Regions from separate parts of the Homo sapiens genome. Here region 2 is linked to region 1. The links are contacts of gene promoters, found by promoter capture Hi-C in blood cells and fetal thymus (Javierre and others, 2016). All regions are on one chromosome and are shown on one strand. The core of a region is centred on a gene start or on the middle of the fragment in contact, and the rest is flanking DNA. Distances in the headings are between cores, read along the strand shown.

Region 1 (2,930 bases), core at 264-2,763:
TATCTCTTAATGAAACTGCATTTTAGCCGGGCGCGGTGGCTCACGCCTGTAATCCCAGCACTTTGGGAGGCCGAGGCGGGCGGATCACAAGGTCAGAGATCCAGACCATCCTGGCTAACACGGTGAAACCCCGTCTCTACTAAAAACACAAAAATTAGCCGGGCGTGGTGGCGGGCGCCTGTAGTCCCAGCTACTCAGGAGGCTGAGGCAGGAGAATGGCGTGAACCTGGGAGGCGGAGCTTGCAGTGAACGGAGATCGCGCCACTGCACTCCAGCCTGGGCGACAGAGCGAGATACCGTCTCACAAAAAAAAAAAAAAAAAAAAAAAAAGTGCACTTTAGATGTTTTCCTGGTGGGGGGGGGGGGGAGTGGGATATAAGTAGCAGTGTTCCAAGTACCAAAACCTCCCTGAGTCATCTGTGAAAAGCCATTTGGCAATAATACTGAAAGCTTTTAAATGCTCACATTCTGACTTAGCAGTTTCACTCCTGTGAATATAACCTAAGGAAACTGATCTCAATACTGAAAGGACTTTATACACAAGAATGGGCTGGGCAGCAAAGTGCTGTAATCCCAGCACTTTGGGAGGCCGAGGCCGGGTCGAGGGAGAAGCACCTGAGGTCAGAAGTTCGAGACCAGCCTGGCCAACATGATGAAACCCCGTCTCTACTGAAAGTACAAAAATTAGGTGGGCGTGGTGGCAGATGCCCGTAATCTCAGCTACTCAGGAGGCTGAGGCAGGAGAATCTCTTGAACCTGGAAGGCGAAGGTTGCAGTGAGCTGAGATCGCGCCACTGCACTCCAGCCTGGGCGACAAGAGCGAGACATCGTCTCAAAAAACAAACAAACAAACAAACAAACAACCAAACAAAACAAAAAAGAATGAATAATTTATAATCGTGAAGCTTTGGAAGCCACTTGAATGTTGAACATTTGCGAGATGCTCAGAGAAGTGACAGCGTATCAACCCAATTTTTTAAAGTCCTGCCATTAAAAATTATAGGTAGGAAGCGTCAGTACTAACACGGTGAAAATGTTCATGTTACAAAGTGGAAAACAACCCTGGATTCAGTTTAGTATGTGCGTTTTACCACAGCTATGTAGAAACAAATCCATACACATGGAAATCGAATGAAGTGAAACGCATGCAAATGGTAATGATGCTGTGCTTGGAGGCAGAATTGGAAGCAGTGTTAAAGTTATTTATCATCATTCGTGTTTTTAAAATGCCGTGTGATGGCCGCAATACTTCTGTAACGAATGATGTTTAAGCACGGAGCCCTTCACTGGCCGACGCGCGGGTGGGAGATAGGAGCCGCGCCCAAGCTCAGGTGGCGGCTGCGGGCAGGGCCGCCTGGGGCCGCAGCCGGGCGCGCTCCCGGCGGGGACCCTCTGCTCTCCTTGCAGACGGAGGCCGCGCCGGGTTTGGAGGCATCCCACAGCCTCAGGCCGAGGACCCGCCGCGAAGCGCCGCCTCCGCGGGTTGACCCTCTGCAGCCGCCGTAGCGCAGAGACGAATCCGCGCTCCCCCAGGCTGTCGCGCGAGCTCCCCGGAAGCTCCCACCTGAGCGGCGCATCCTCAGGGCCTGGGCCTGGCCTCCTTGCCTGTGAGATGGCACTGTGACGGTGCCCACCTCGTGGGGTGTGTGAGGGCCGAGTGAAATCGTGCATTTGCGGTAAGAAAGTGCTTATCACGGTGCCCAGTCCTAATATGGGCTGCCAGCCTAAGTACAGAGTCCCAATCCCAGCCCAAAGGCCAGTTTCCAGGTGAACCCTTGTCGGGGAGACCACCAGACGGAACAGTCCCAGTCTACACTCCTGCACCGAGCAGGGGACAGTGTGGACCGCAGAGAGGTCCGAAGTCCCTTTAGAATAAGGATGGTGCTTCAGGGTTGTTAAAAGGATTAAATGAGATGATATCTAAAGGGATTAGCACAGTGGCTGGTGCTAAAATAAATCATTTTCTCTACTGCCACTGCTCTTACAACCAGACGCCTGGAACAGCCTGCTGGTTCGTCTCCTCATTTGTAAGCTGGAGTTAGTAGGTGTGTTGTGAAGGTTGAGAGAATATGCATAGGCAGAACCTGGCGTTTAATATTTGGGAAGTGGCAGCAATTCTTTCTTCATTAATCTACAAGCTGCACTGTGGTAGGCACATACCCTTAGCACCGATTCTTATAAGTGCAGGTAAGAGAGAGAGAAGATATATTGTGTAAGTCGAAGGAGCCAGCCGTGTCCAGGCCACCGCAAAACCTCGACAGTACTGTACCAGGGCCCTCTTCAGTGAATGAATCTCCTCTTTGGCCTGTTTGCTGTCTGTTTGCATTTGCTGCACCCATCAGTTCCCAAACCTGGTCTCTAAAGTCAGGAGCTCAAGGAAGCTTGTCCCAATCCTAGAAAACAAGTACAGCACACACCAACAGCAGCATCCCTAAAAGCCAGCCCTACTGGCAATGCGGGCCCTGCAACCCGTAGGTAAGTGGGACACTCTAAGCTTCTTGGAAACAGCTAACTCAGGGCCTGATTAGCTTACTCCCGCCTCCTGTCTTCAGGAAATCAGACTGTGTAAAATAAGAGAGAAAAGAAAATTGACATAAGTCTATTCCACTGTCTAATGAAATGTGTTTCACTTGTGTTTAAAGTGAATTGTGGGCTGGCGTGGTGGCTCATTTGCCTATAATCCCAACACTTTAGGAGGCCAAGGCAGGCAGATGGCTTGAGCTCAGAAGTTTGAAATCAGCCTGGCAACATGCAAAAACCCCATCTCTACAAAAAATATAAAAATTAGCAGGATGTGGTGGCGCATGCCTGTAGTCCCAGTTACTCTGGAGGCTGAGGTGGGAGGATGGCTTGAGCCTGGCAGGTCGAGGCTGCAGTGAGCTGTAATCATGCCAGTGCACTCCAGCCTGGGTGACAGTCAGGTCCTGTCT
Region 2 (2,930 bases), core at 322-2,821, 1.5 Mb before region 1:
TATTTTCTAGTTTACTTTAAAATGCTATTTTTTAATAGTTAAGTCTTTAATCTTTGTTTCATTTTGGTATATAGCATGAGGTAAAGCTTTAATTTAAAAATTTCGCTCAAATAGCCAATTGTCTAAGGACTGTTTTATAAGTAATCTATCATTTTTCTACTTATTAAAATGTCGTCTTTAAAATATACTAATTAGGAATGTAATCATGGATGTGTTTCTGAGATTTCCATTTGGTTGCAATAATCTATTTTGCATTGGTACTTGCATTGAAGTATCAATATGATACTTCTTAAATTATGGGTTTATATGACATTTTAATATCTAAAACCCCTGTTTTATTATTCTTTTCTTCCCAAATTTTAGTGTTTCCAATTCCTTTGCTTTTCCATATTAGGTCAAGTTCTAAGTAACAACTAAAACCTTTAAGATATCTATTTAAATATATCTGTATCTATATAAACATATGTCTAAACATAGCTTTAGCTATATAAATCAATTAGAAAACACTACCATCTTTTCAATACCTTGTCTTCCCATTCAAGAACATGGATTATATCTCTATAAAAGTCTTCTATTCCATTCTTCAGTAAAGTTTCATGGTATTTTTATGTCTGTTACTTAATCTGTTGTGAATGGAATCTTTTATATTTTCTAACTCATGACTTGTGAGATACAGGAAATTCTACTGACTTTACAGAAGTCAATGGCAAATAATTATTTTGTCTCTTCTTTTCCAGTCTTTGTTTTCTTTCCTTATTTTACTGTTTTGCGTAGCACTTCCACAATAAGAGTTATCATGGCTCTCTTCATCTTATTCCTACACTTAAGAGGCTTTTATCAGAAAATATGACAAAATGAACAAAAGGAAACAAAATGAACCACCCAATTCACACCCATCCTCTTCACTCTATCATTATACTACTTTGTATATTGACAGCCCATTGTTTTACCTGACAATTTTTGTCAACAACTTGCTTCAGCATAAGCCTTACATTCCTTTAATAGATCAAAGCCTGGGCTGATTCAAAGGCTCACCTTGGACCCAGATGCCAGTCTGCCTCCTAGCTGATCATACTTCAAGGTAGTGATAGCTGCTTTGTGACCATTGAAGGTCACATTTCCTTCCCCACTCAGGAGACTGAAGATTCGGATCGACCCATCCTCATACCCAACAGCTAAGTGTAGCCCATCTGGGGAGGGGCATAAGCAAGTAACTTCTTGTTTAAGCCCCTGAAGGATAAGAATCTGAAATCATAAAAATTAAAAACAATGTAGAAGAGTTAAGCATGAACTCAAGGGAAAAGCATAGGAATACTCAGGCACAGTAAAATTAAGAGCACCAATAATTCCAAATTACTCTTATGAATAAAAATGAAACTCCACAATCCATTTCAAGTTTTTTAATATAGAAATTAGTATTTGTACTAGGCAATGAAACATTTAAGAAAAGGCTTAATTATTTTCTCCAAAGCCCTACGTTGTTGTAATACATATAAAAACTCCCTAGGCAATAAAATAAATTTAATCCCTTTAATCTAATTCTTAACCCTAGAACAACACTACGTGATTTTCAATAAAGGTTTATAAATTCCTTTAACTGAGACCCATTTTATAAGAAAATAATCTGTGTGGCAACAGAGTACTGCAGTGGTTTTAACCACAAAGGACTCTTGGTGGCAACAAGAATCAAAGTACTAACCTCTTGGGAATCACAAAATGAATGGACAATATCAAAATGCCTATATTTGGTTTGGCAAAAGTGGTAGGCTTAGGGAATTCAGTCACACAAAGTATCAAAGTCTACTTTAACAACACTTGGGCATTATCCATATTAGAAAAAGATTCTGCCAAAATAGACTAACCTTCCTTTTACATGCCTAATATTTTATAACCAGCTATAAGCATAAGTCGAGCTTGAAAAATAGAATTGGTAGAGAAAAAATACATCAGGAATAAATAATTACTGCAAATAATGACCTGTAAATATTCCAACAAATAGACATCTAAGAAATAAGCTCCTATTTCATTGTGGTTTTCAGAATTCAGTGGCGAAGAACACAAAGGAACTTGATGCTTGGCTAGCTAGACCTAAAGGAAAAAGATTTTTCTTCTAAGGGCACAGACACAAAAAAACTCATGATAAATAAATCAGAGCCCCCCCACTTCTACTACCTCTCCATCCTCAAATACCAATAAATCAGTATCAAACTGGTCATTTTAGGCTCACCTTCTCTCCTTTCCTTAAGTCCCAGATGAAAACGTGTTCACAAGCTGGTACTGCCACATAACGTCCTTTCTCACCACGAAGTGTCACAAAGACAATATTACCTTTTTGGCTGCCGATAACGCCAAAGACCGCACTAGCAACATAGCGTAGGTACTGCTTGGTGAGCCCCATGTTGTGATGTCTGATACCACAGGTGAAGCAATCTGTGCATATAAACAAAGAAAACTCAGCTCCTTGGGTGCCTTGGTTCTACTAGGTTAGTAAACACCAACTGTTTTTTTGTTTTTGAGACAGAGTCTCACTCTGTTGCCCAGGCTGGAGTGCAGTGGTGGGATCCTGGCTCACAGCTGACTCCACCTCCTAGGTTCAAGCGATTCTCCTGCCTCAGCCTCCCGAGTAGCTGGGACTACAGGCATGTGCCACCATACCCGGCTAATTTTTTTTTTTTTTTTTTTTTTAGTAGAGATGGGGTTTCACCATATTGGCCAGGCTCGTCTCGAAAGCCTCACCTCAAGTGATCCATCCGCCACGGCCTCCCAAAGTGCTGGGATTACAGGTGTTAGCCACTGCGCCAGAACAACACCAACTGTTGATCATGTCATTAAAAGCATGTAACTTGTGACTTCTTAATCTTTATTTACTCTAAATGAATCATTGACCTAAAATACCTGGACATCATTTTTTATTCAGTGTTGACTCAATA

The links. The method cuts DNA at HindIII sites, captures the fragments that hold promoters and counts their contacts. A CHiCAGO score of 5 or more calls a contact.
Region 2: a contact is called between a fragment that was not itself captured here and the fragment with the promoter of ATP1A1-AS1 in region 1, in 1 of 17 cell types (total B cells). The highest score is 5.5, in total B cells.

Annotation. Positions count from the first base shown.
Region 1 is chr1:116,417,205-116,420,134 of GRCh38, reverse strand. It overlaps ATP1A1-AS1 (ATP1A1 antisense RNA 1), which reads left to right and starts at 1,513. Exons shown (of 3, transcript NR_027646.1): 1 at 1,513-1,676. RefSeq lists a silencer at 1,305-1,434 and an enhancer at 1,394-1,688. The HindIII fragment of the contact is 1,476 bases long and covers 908-2,383 here.
Region 2 is chr1:117,932,788-117,935,717 of GRCh38, reverse strand. WDR3 (WD repeat domain 3) reads right to left here. Exons shown (of 27, transcript NM_006784.3): 2 at 2,228-2,430; 3 at 1,036-1,245. The coding sequence starts at 2,398. Among named protein-coding and RNA genes, the nearest start is that of WDR3, 4.5 kb to the right of the region's middle. The HindIII fragment of the contact is 2,966 bases long and covers 89-2,930 here.